Linked DNA regions of Homo sapiens: region 2 is linked to region 1. The links are contacts of gene promoters, found by promoter capture Hi-C in blood cells and fetal thymus (Javierre and others, 2016). All regions are on one chromosome and are shown on one strand. Each heading gives the region's core, a stretch centred on a gene start or on the middle of the fragment in contact. The rest is flanking DNA. Distances are from core to core; before and after follow the strand shown. Region 1 holds the start of ZFPM2-AS1 (ZFPM2 antisense RNA 1). Region 2 has its middle 240 kb from the start of LINC03084.

Region 1 (3,797 bases), core at 647-3,146:
CTTACTCTCTCTCCATTCTGGAGGCTAGAAATCTTAAAATCAAAGTGCTGTCTCTGGAAGCCTCCAGAGAATGATCCTTCCTTCCTTTTCCCGCTCCTAGGCATTCCTTGGCTTGGGTAGCATAACTCCAATTTCTGTCTCCATCTTCACATGGCTGTCTTCCATCTGTGTCTGTCTTCACGTGGCATTCTCCTCTCCATGCGTCTCTGTCTCTGTGTCTACATTTCCCTTTCCTTATAAGGACACCAGTTATATTGGATCAAGGGCCCACCCTACTCCAGTATTATTTCATCATAACTAATTAAATCTGCAAAAACTGTATTTCCAAGTAAGGTCACATTCTAAGACACTGGAGATTAGGATTTTGACATATGTTTTTGGAGGATGCAATTTAATCCATAAGAGTTAGTGGAAAAAGGTAGAGGTCCCACTGCTGCAAATGGTCCTGATGCTATAGCTGATACTTCTCATCCCTTTTCTCCACCACCCATTCTAGACTTTCCTCATACTCAGCCAATATGTCATTGCATCTAAGTTATTTGTGTGGTAGAGTAACTTCCACTGGATAGAGCAGAAGCTCTGTAAGTCTTTACCCTGGCAGGGGGCAGGAATGCAACTCTACATCTGGGATACATGTAATTTTCTTTATAGAATAATCAGTAGAAGCAGTAGCTAGATCAACATTAGGAGGTCCATGCTTTGGGTCTGTGCATAGACTCTATTCCTGACTTTGTGCTCATATATCCACTGTGCATAATCTAGGTGGTTGAGGAGGTTGGCTGATATCCACAGAATAAGTCATCCTTCCTCCCTAGCTGTTGAGTGCTTCTTATGTAGCAGATGTTCTCCTACAGGCATTAATGTGCCAGCAATCCTCCACACCCTTTGTACTACTCCAATAGGTTCATAAACTTGCCTCAACACAAATTTCATTTTTACTCTCTTCTAGTCTTGCCACTACCAGGCTTCTGCCCATGAAGACAAGCCCAGCAGTTCCATATATCTTTACCTCATATTACTCTTCTTTGCAGCCAAGATGAATAACCAGGTTTGCTTGCAGTTCTGCTCATTGAGAGGATGTTCCTTTACCCCCAGTCTTCAGGCAGTCCCTGGGTGGGGCTGGAGTGATGGCATACCATTTTATACTTTTACTAACCTATCAGCCAACTGATCCCATGGACCAAGCTCAGGCTTTTCCCCTTCAGTTAGTTGATTGTAAGGAAGCCCCTATGAGGCCATGGGTTCCAGCTGAGATGAATTATCCTTCAGAGTTCTTTCTTGCTTGTTTCTACTTATATTTGGAACAGGCAATTTGCAAAGGTAGAAAGGAAAAACATCAATTAGGTAGATACTACAATAACTAAAGAGTTAAGTATCAAAATTTTAACTCATGAGGTGATGGTAAGAAGTGAAAACATCGCCTCTAAGAAATATTGGGCAGATAAAATAGAATGCAACAATTCAAAAGAGAAGGATGCTTTAATGTAAGGAGAAAAGCTGTGACTTTAGCTTTAAATATACTAAGATGGAGGTGGTGAGGGTATTCAACCACAAACCTACATTCTATGTGCCCAGGATTGTTCAAGGTATGTGTCAGGTTCTAACTGAGGTCCGAGGGGAGTCAGTGGGTGAGTGGTGGGTAGCCGGAAAAACACTGGGGGAATCGTAGACAGTTTTGACATGGCTTTTCTCTCTCTCTGCGCATAAGCCATATGTACAGCATCAGCAGTGTAGTTATAACTTTTACAGACGACAGTGGCTCTGAATCAAGCACGCGCTCACGTGACTGGTTACTAATGCGCCTCACGTGGCGTGGTTACCTAATGAGCTGAGTTGTGTGAGTGAGCTCCAAACTCACTGAGTCATGCTGGACCGGATGTCTGCTTCGACCTATTCTTGACCGCAGCACATCCGTTTTCCTTACAGTATGTAGTACGCATTCTACCTTTTCCTACAATGAATCCACCAGCAGAAATTCCTGTACACATCTTATCAACAAAGAATTTGAACCTCAAAGAGTAAGTACTTTCTCCAGAGTGTAAGATTGTTAATGTCTGTGATATTCTTTGAAGTGAGGCAAGTAAATACTTCTCAACATGTTTTCTTTTCCTGCTCCTCTTTCTCCTACTTCTTTCCTTCTTTTTTCCTCCTCTTCCTGTTATAGGACTAGCAAGTACACAGGACCACTGTACAGTAACAGATCAGTTACACTGAGACAACAGAGTTTACAGCAGAGAAAGAGTTTAATGCTCACCGGATACCAAGTGAGGAGATGGGAGGAGACCCTCAAGTTCGTCTCCCCAAGGAGCACTTGGCTGGGGTTTTTAATGGGATCATGGAGGGTGAGAGGTTGGAGCATTGAGATTGTTGATATTTGGGGTAAGGGGGATGACATCATGAGGATGTAGAAACTGCATTCTTTGGTGAGTCAGCTTCTTGTGGGGTCCTTCAGACTAGCTGATGTCAGTAGTTTCATTCTTTTACAGGGCTTGCAGGACTTGAAAGAATAGAACTTATGTTTTCCCTTTGAGGTATTTTAAGTTTTTATCTGTAGAGCAGTGAAGGGGAACGGTAATCTTGTAACAGGGTCTATGTAATTCGGAGGCAATAGGCAAACAACTATGAGGAATGGATCACAGAGCATCTAACATAATGATTAATGCTGGGTGTGCTGCAAGCTTGCTTTATTTTCATTTCTCCCCGTCCCTTCTTCCCTGATTGAATTTATAAAGTTTACAGGAGCAGTTTCACTCATGGTAACTATATCTTGGTTTTGAATTAGACTGTCAGTATAGACAGGAAATACGGCACTGCTCACAGTTGATGCTTCATAAATATTTTGGGGGAAAAAGTTCTTACACATTACTCCTCCTGATCTCCGAAATTTGAGTTTGAAATAACTTAAGTAAAACCTTTGAACATTGTTATTTACCAGCTGCAAAAGTTTAAAATATGAAATTTACCTCAGTACAACCCCTCTTGAATGATTTAATTTTATACTTTAAAAGCTACATTTCATCCTATCTGTTTTTTGGCAAAAAGTAATTGAAGCCAACTATTCTTTTCTTTTTCATAATCCCACATGTACAGTTCTTAATTAAGCACAATTAAAATCAGCTTTTTCTGTCTTATTTTGTATTCTCATTCCATATGCTATATGTTCTTTATTTCTATTAAAAAGATGTACTTTTAATAAAAATGGATCTTTCTTCCTTTCTTATATTGCTATGATTTTATAGCTTTCAAATCCATTCTTAATTAGGTTCTGGTGCTGGTGATTATTAAGTTCTTCACACTTCTCTCATAGTGGAGCTTAAGGTAAGATAAAGGAAATGACAATTCCCAACCTTGTCTAGCCTTGAGGAAGAGGGTCAGAATAATATTGGTGGAACTTGAGCTGGAATGACTCTAGATTTAAGCAAAATTTGCGTTTCTTTGGCCATTAATTCAGAATGAAGGATGAGTTTGTGTCACGTGTGCCTCCTGAAGTACTCTGAGATTGCCTATGTACTCACAGGCTCATTCTAGTCTGTGAAAATCCTTTTTTAAACCGGCCTGAAACCCAGGAGCCTCATAAAAAAAGAGAGAAAAATCAATGCAATTAGTTTTCATGTATACTTACGTCTTCCTTCTGTTGTTTGTTGACTCTACACTTTAGTATAATTTCAGGCATAATGCCTCCATCTTTGAGCAGGAAGGAATGGGTTACCCGTGGGCCTTGATGCTGACCTTTTGCCCTGGGAAGCTTGGCTCCAACTGGAGCAGCTGAGGTTTCTGGGCTGGTTACTTCTGCTCCA
Region 2 (3,797 bases), core at 561-3,060, 1.1 Mb after region 1:
TTTTGGAAAATTCTTGAAATAATTTCACAAGAGAATGTTATAAAATGCTCATTTAAGACTTAAATAATATTTTAAATTCTTAAAGTCAGAGCAACTGTGTCTAGACATTTTTAAATGAAATAATTTATGTCAAAATAAAAAATATTCAAATACCTATGTTACCACTATTCAGGGAAAAATAAAAAGCTACGATTTTTTTAAGAAAAAGTATAATTAAAACAAATAATTTGACAGAAACTTCTTTTACTGTTATTGGAATAAAGTTTCATGAGATGTTTATGTTCTTATAAGATTTTAAATAGCATTTTCTGGATTCCAATAGAGATGTGTCAATCATTTGAATCATAATAAGCCAGAAGTTCTCTTTTTATGTTAAACAAATAAATCAAAGTGAAATTCTACTTGGGCAAAAGGTGAAATTAAGTTTAAGTGACCATATTCATGAATAAAATCACTATGAAGCACAATTAAATGCATTTTTGCTACTATTATAAATGAGAAATTTTCCCATTATACCTATATTTTAATTTATAATTGGAAATTGAATTCCTGGTACTCAGATTGATCCCATCCAGAGTTTTACTTTGAAGTTTGACCTCAGAATTTGTGCAATAATATCAAGTAGATGATAAAATTACAGGGGAAATTGTGTAATAATAGCACGCCTGTAGAAATCTTTACTTGCATAGCCATGATTCTTGGACACCAACCGGCCCTTGTTTTACATAAGGATATAATATCCCTGTCTATTTGAACCCCATGTTACCAAAGAGCTAAAACACAGATCTGGTTTAATTAAACAGCAAGACCCAACAGAAAGGATCCAATCAAGATGAATAATATTTCTGCTTCTCTCGCCAAAACAAAATAGACTGCTTGAGTGCTTTATGTTCAGGCGCAGCAAGCCAATGCATGCTGGGTGTCATGTCAGATGATAATTCAAGAGTTAAAAAAGACGGAATTCTCATTCACATATGAGAAGCTGCTATCAGCTCCCTTATCGACCTTATGTGTGCTCATGGGTAAGATGCACTGTTACTCATCATAAGATGAGAAATTGATTTATCTGGATAAACTGTTAGAGGAATCTGATGGTCTCATTAGTAAGGTGCTTCCGGGCCAGCAACACTGCCTCCTCTTACTAAGGAAGACCCTTACTAAGGATCAAATGTGCTCCTGGAGAACTACAACAGGATTTGGCCCTAAATTTCCAGATAATGATGGTCGAGTAGGGCTTGATTTATTCTACGTGTTGCTTTTATTCTCTCTATTGATTCCTACAAAATAAAGATGGCCAACCCTGGTACAGAATTAGAAATAATTAGAATCAGTTGTTATTTACTCATGATTTTATTTTTTGCAGAAGTTGAGGAGTGGGTGGGGAGGGGGTGGCAGGCGAGGGGAAATGTGTCCTTTGAATAGCTGCCTCTGGAAGAAATATTCTGGTAAAAAAACTGCTTCCAGTGTTTGTCTAAAATAAAGAAATAAATAAATGTGGCGTCGGGTGAATCACATCAAAATCTCAAGACAATTCCAAGATGAACCAACTCGAAGAGTAAATGACCTCTTCATCTGGGTGATAAAGTTCCAGCCAAAATATTCTCTGGGCCTGAGACGTGATTCATTAGAAATATGTGCATGGTGTGGCGCTCCCCTCTCTATCTGGCAGAGTCCAGTCTGCACGCTGATAAGAAGCAAATGCAAATGTCCTGATAAGAACTGAATGCAAATATTTATGATATGATATTCCCTGGGAATTATGTGCAGATAAAACAAAGTGTATTATTTTCCTGCTTCTCTTTCAGGTTTGCCAAAATGCCCTTTTTCGCTTTTGGAATTTGCATTTCTTCAAAATTGATTCGGCTTGCGTATTATGTTAAGCTATTTGTTTGCTAAGGATGGTAATTAGTTACTGTAATTACAGCAATGACAGTTGCTAAATTGTTTTTAAAGCATTACAGTGAGCCTGTGCCAGAAGATTGCAGTATTTTTTTGGATTTAAGCAGAGGCTGGAAAAACTCCCACTCTAGGGCCAGCATGGGATTTTCAACTACAAAGCTGCTTTTCCTGATTGAAATTTTTAAAAAAATCATTAATTTGCATTGATTGCAAGTGCTAACTTTACATTTAGGTTTATTCACATATCACAGAAATATTAGTGATAGTGGACCTTGGCGTAGAGGAGACACAAGGGGACACTCATCGTAAATAAAAGTGAAAGCTGATAGCAGAGGAAAAATGGTATAACTGTTACTTGGAGCCTGTTAATTAAACTTTTTAGCCTGTTTTTAGATAAATTAAAAACAATTAAAAATGTTTCTCTGAAAGTCATTTCCAAACTTTTCTGAGCACTCCTGGTTAAAATGAGTAATGTGGAAAAGAATAGTTTGGCCATATTCTATTTTTGACATGTGGAAAGTAACAGAAACAAGGAGAAAGGTTATTTACCCAAATATTCCTCACAGATTGAGTTTAAAAGAAAATAATTGAGGAGGAGAGACTTGAGCTATAGTACATGTCCGAGACGGTTTGTATGATTTATGCTGTATAACTGTGACTCAGAGGTTAAAGGCAGGGAATGTGGTTCTCTGTGCTGTTTGTTGTCACAAGTGTCTTCTAACAGTACTTCATAAAGTCTAGAGGATTCAGGTGAGCTCAAGTTTTGTTCTCAGTTACATGAAGTCAAAAGAATACAAAGTTTCAGTGCATAATTTAAGGGTACAGGTTTTTATACTCATATATTCGTACTCACAAATGTCTCATAGATAATAACTACTACTATATGTTAAATGTTGTTATTCCTCTACTGCAAGAAAGTTAGCTACCATCATAACAATAATAACAACAGCAGCTAACATTCATTGACATTTTTCCAAATTCTGGGCACAATGCAAAGTATATTACCACATTCTCTCAACAATTTTTGAGATGTTATTAGCTCCACTTTACAGAATGAAATACTGAAGGTTAGAGTTAGAACTTGCTCAATGTCATATTTCTGGTAAAAACTGAACATGAAATTCAAATCCAGGCATCCTGAGTTCACAACCTGTGCTCTTAACTTGACAGGAAAGAACTTTCCATTTTAATGTAAATAAATAATAAACAAATAAATATTTGTTGAAGTCTTGACTTTGTCCTTTAATCTACAGCTAAACTGAAAGCTAAACCATAAAGTCAAGATGTCAAAAATCAAATTTTTATCTTGAAGTTTGTTCTCCTGAAATTTTATTCTATTTACTTGTTGCAGAGATAAATGTAAATTTTTTTTATTATGACTCCAATAGTACCAGCACTTCATGAGAAATCTGACTTTTCACAAAAAGAATTACTTCCTAGGAACTGACTACTTCTGCTCCAAAAAGACTCAACAAATTTAGTTTGTGTATTTTTCATCATATGAGAACTTTAAATCCCAGTTTGTGTAACATGGTTTTTATATTTGTATGAATACAGATAAAATTGGTGAATTGGTATGTTACTCATTTAAAAACTGAGTTTTGAAAATGACCTCATGCTGTGGATACCTATGTTTGACCCTCATTCTGTAAAGCTGTTTCATGCATGACACAAATCAAATAGCTCCACTATGGGAGGCAAGTATCTTCCATGTACACACACATACATATACACGAGGCATTAGTCAATGCAATTTATACAAGCAGTGTTTCCAATTAACATATTCAACAACCGGTCTTTATGAAGTCACCCCTAATATACTCTCACCCCCTTCAAGCTGGTTATCTCTTCAATTCCTCAACCTGCATGACACTATACTTTTACCTCTTTTAGTGTTT

Evidence for each region. The method cuts DNA at HindIII sites, captures the fragments that hold promoters and counts their contacts. A CHiCAGO score of 5 or more calls a contact.
Region 2: a fragment that was not itself captured here is called in contact with the fragment with the promoter of ZFPM2-AS1 in region 1 in 4 of 17 cell types (M2 macrophages, M1 macrophages, fetal thymus and 1 more); the score reaches 6.5 in M2 macrophages.

Annotation. Positions count from the first base shown.
Region 1 is chr8:106,058,602-106,062,398 of GRCh38, reverse strand. It overlaps ZFPM2-AS1 (ZFPM2 antisense RNA 1), which reads left to right and starts at 1,896. Exons shown (of 5, transcript NR_125797.1): 1 at 1,896-2,018. RefSeq lists an enhancer at 1,202-2,401. The HindIII fragment of the contact is 2,678 bases long and covers 3-2,680 here.
Region 2 is chr8:104,948,329-104,952,125 of GRCh38, reverse strand. No RefSeq gene overlaps it. Among named protein-coding and RNA genes, the nearest start is that of LINC03084, 240 kb to the left of the region's middle. The HindIII fragment of the contact is 5,175 bases long and covers 1-3,797 here.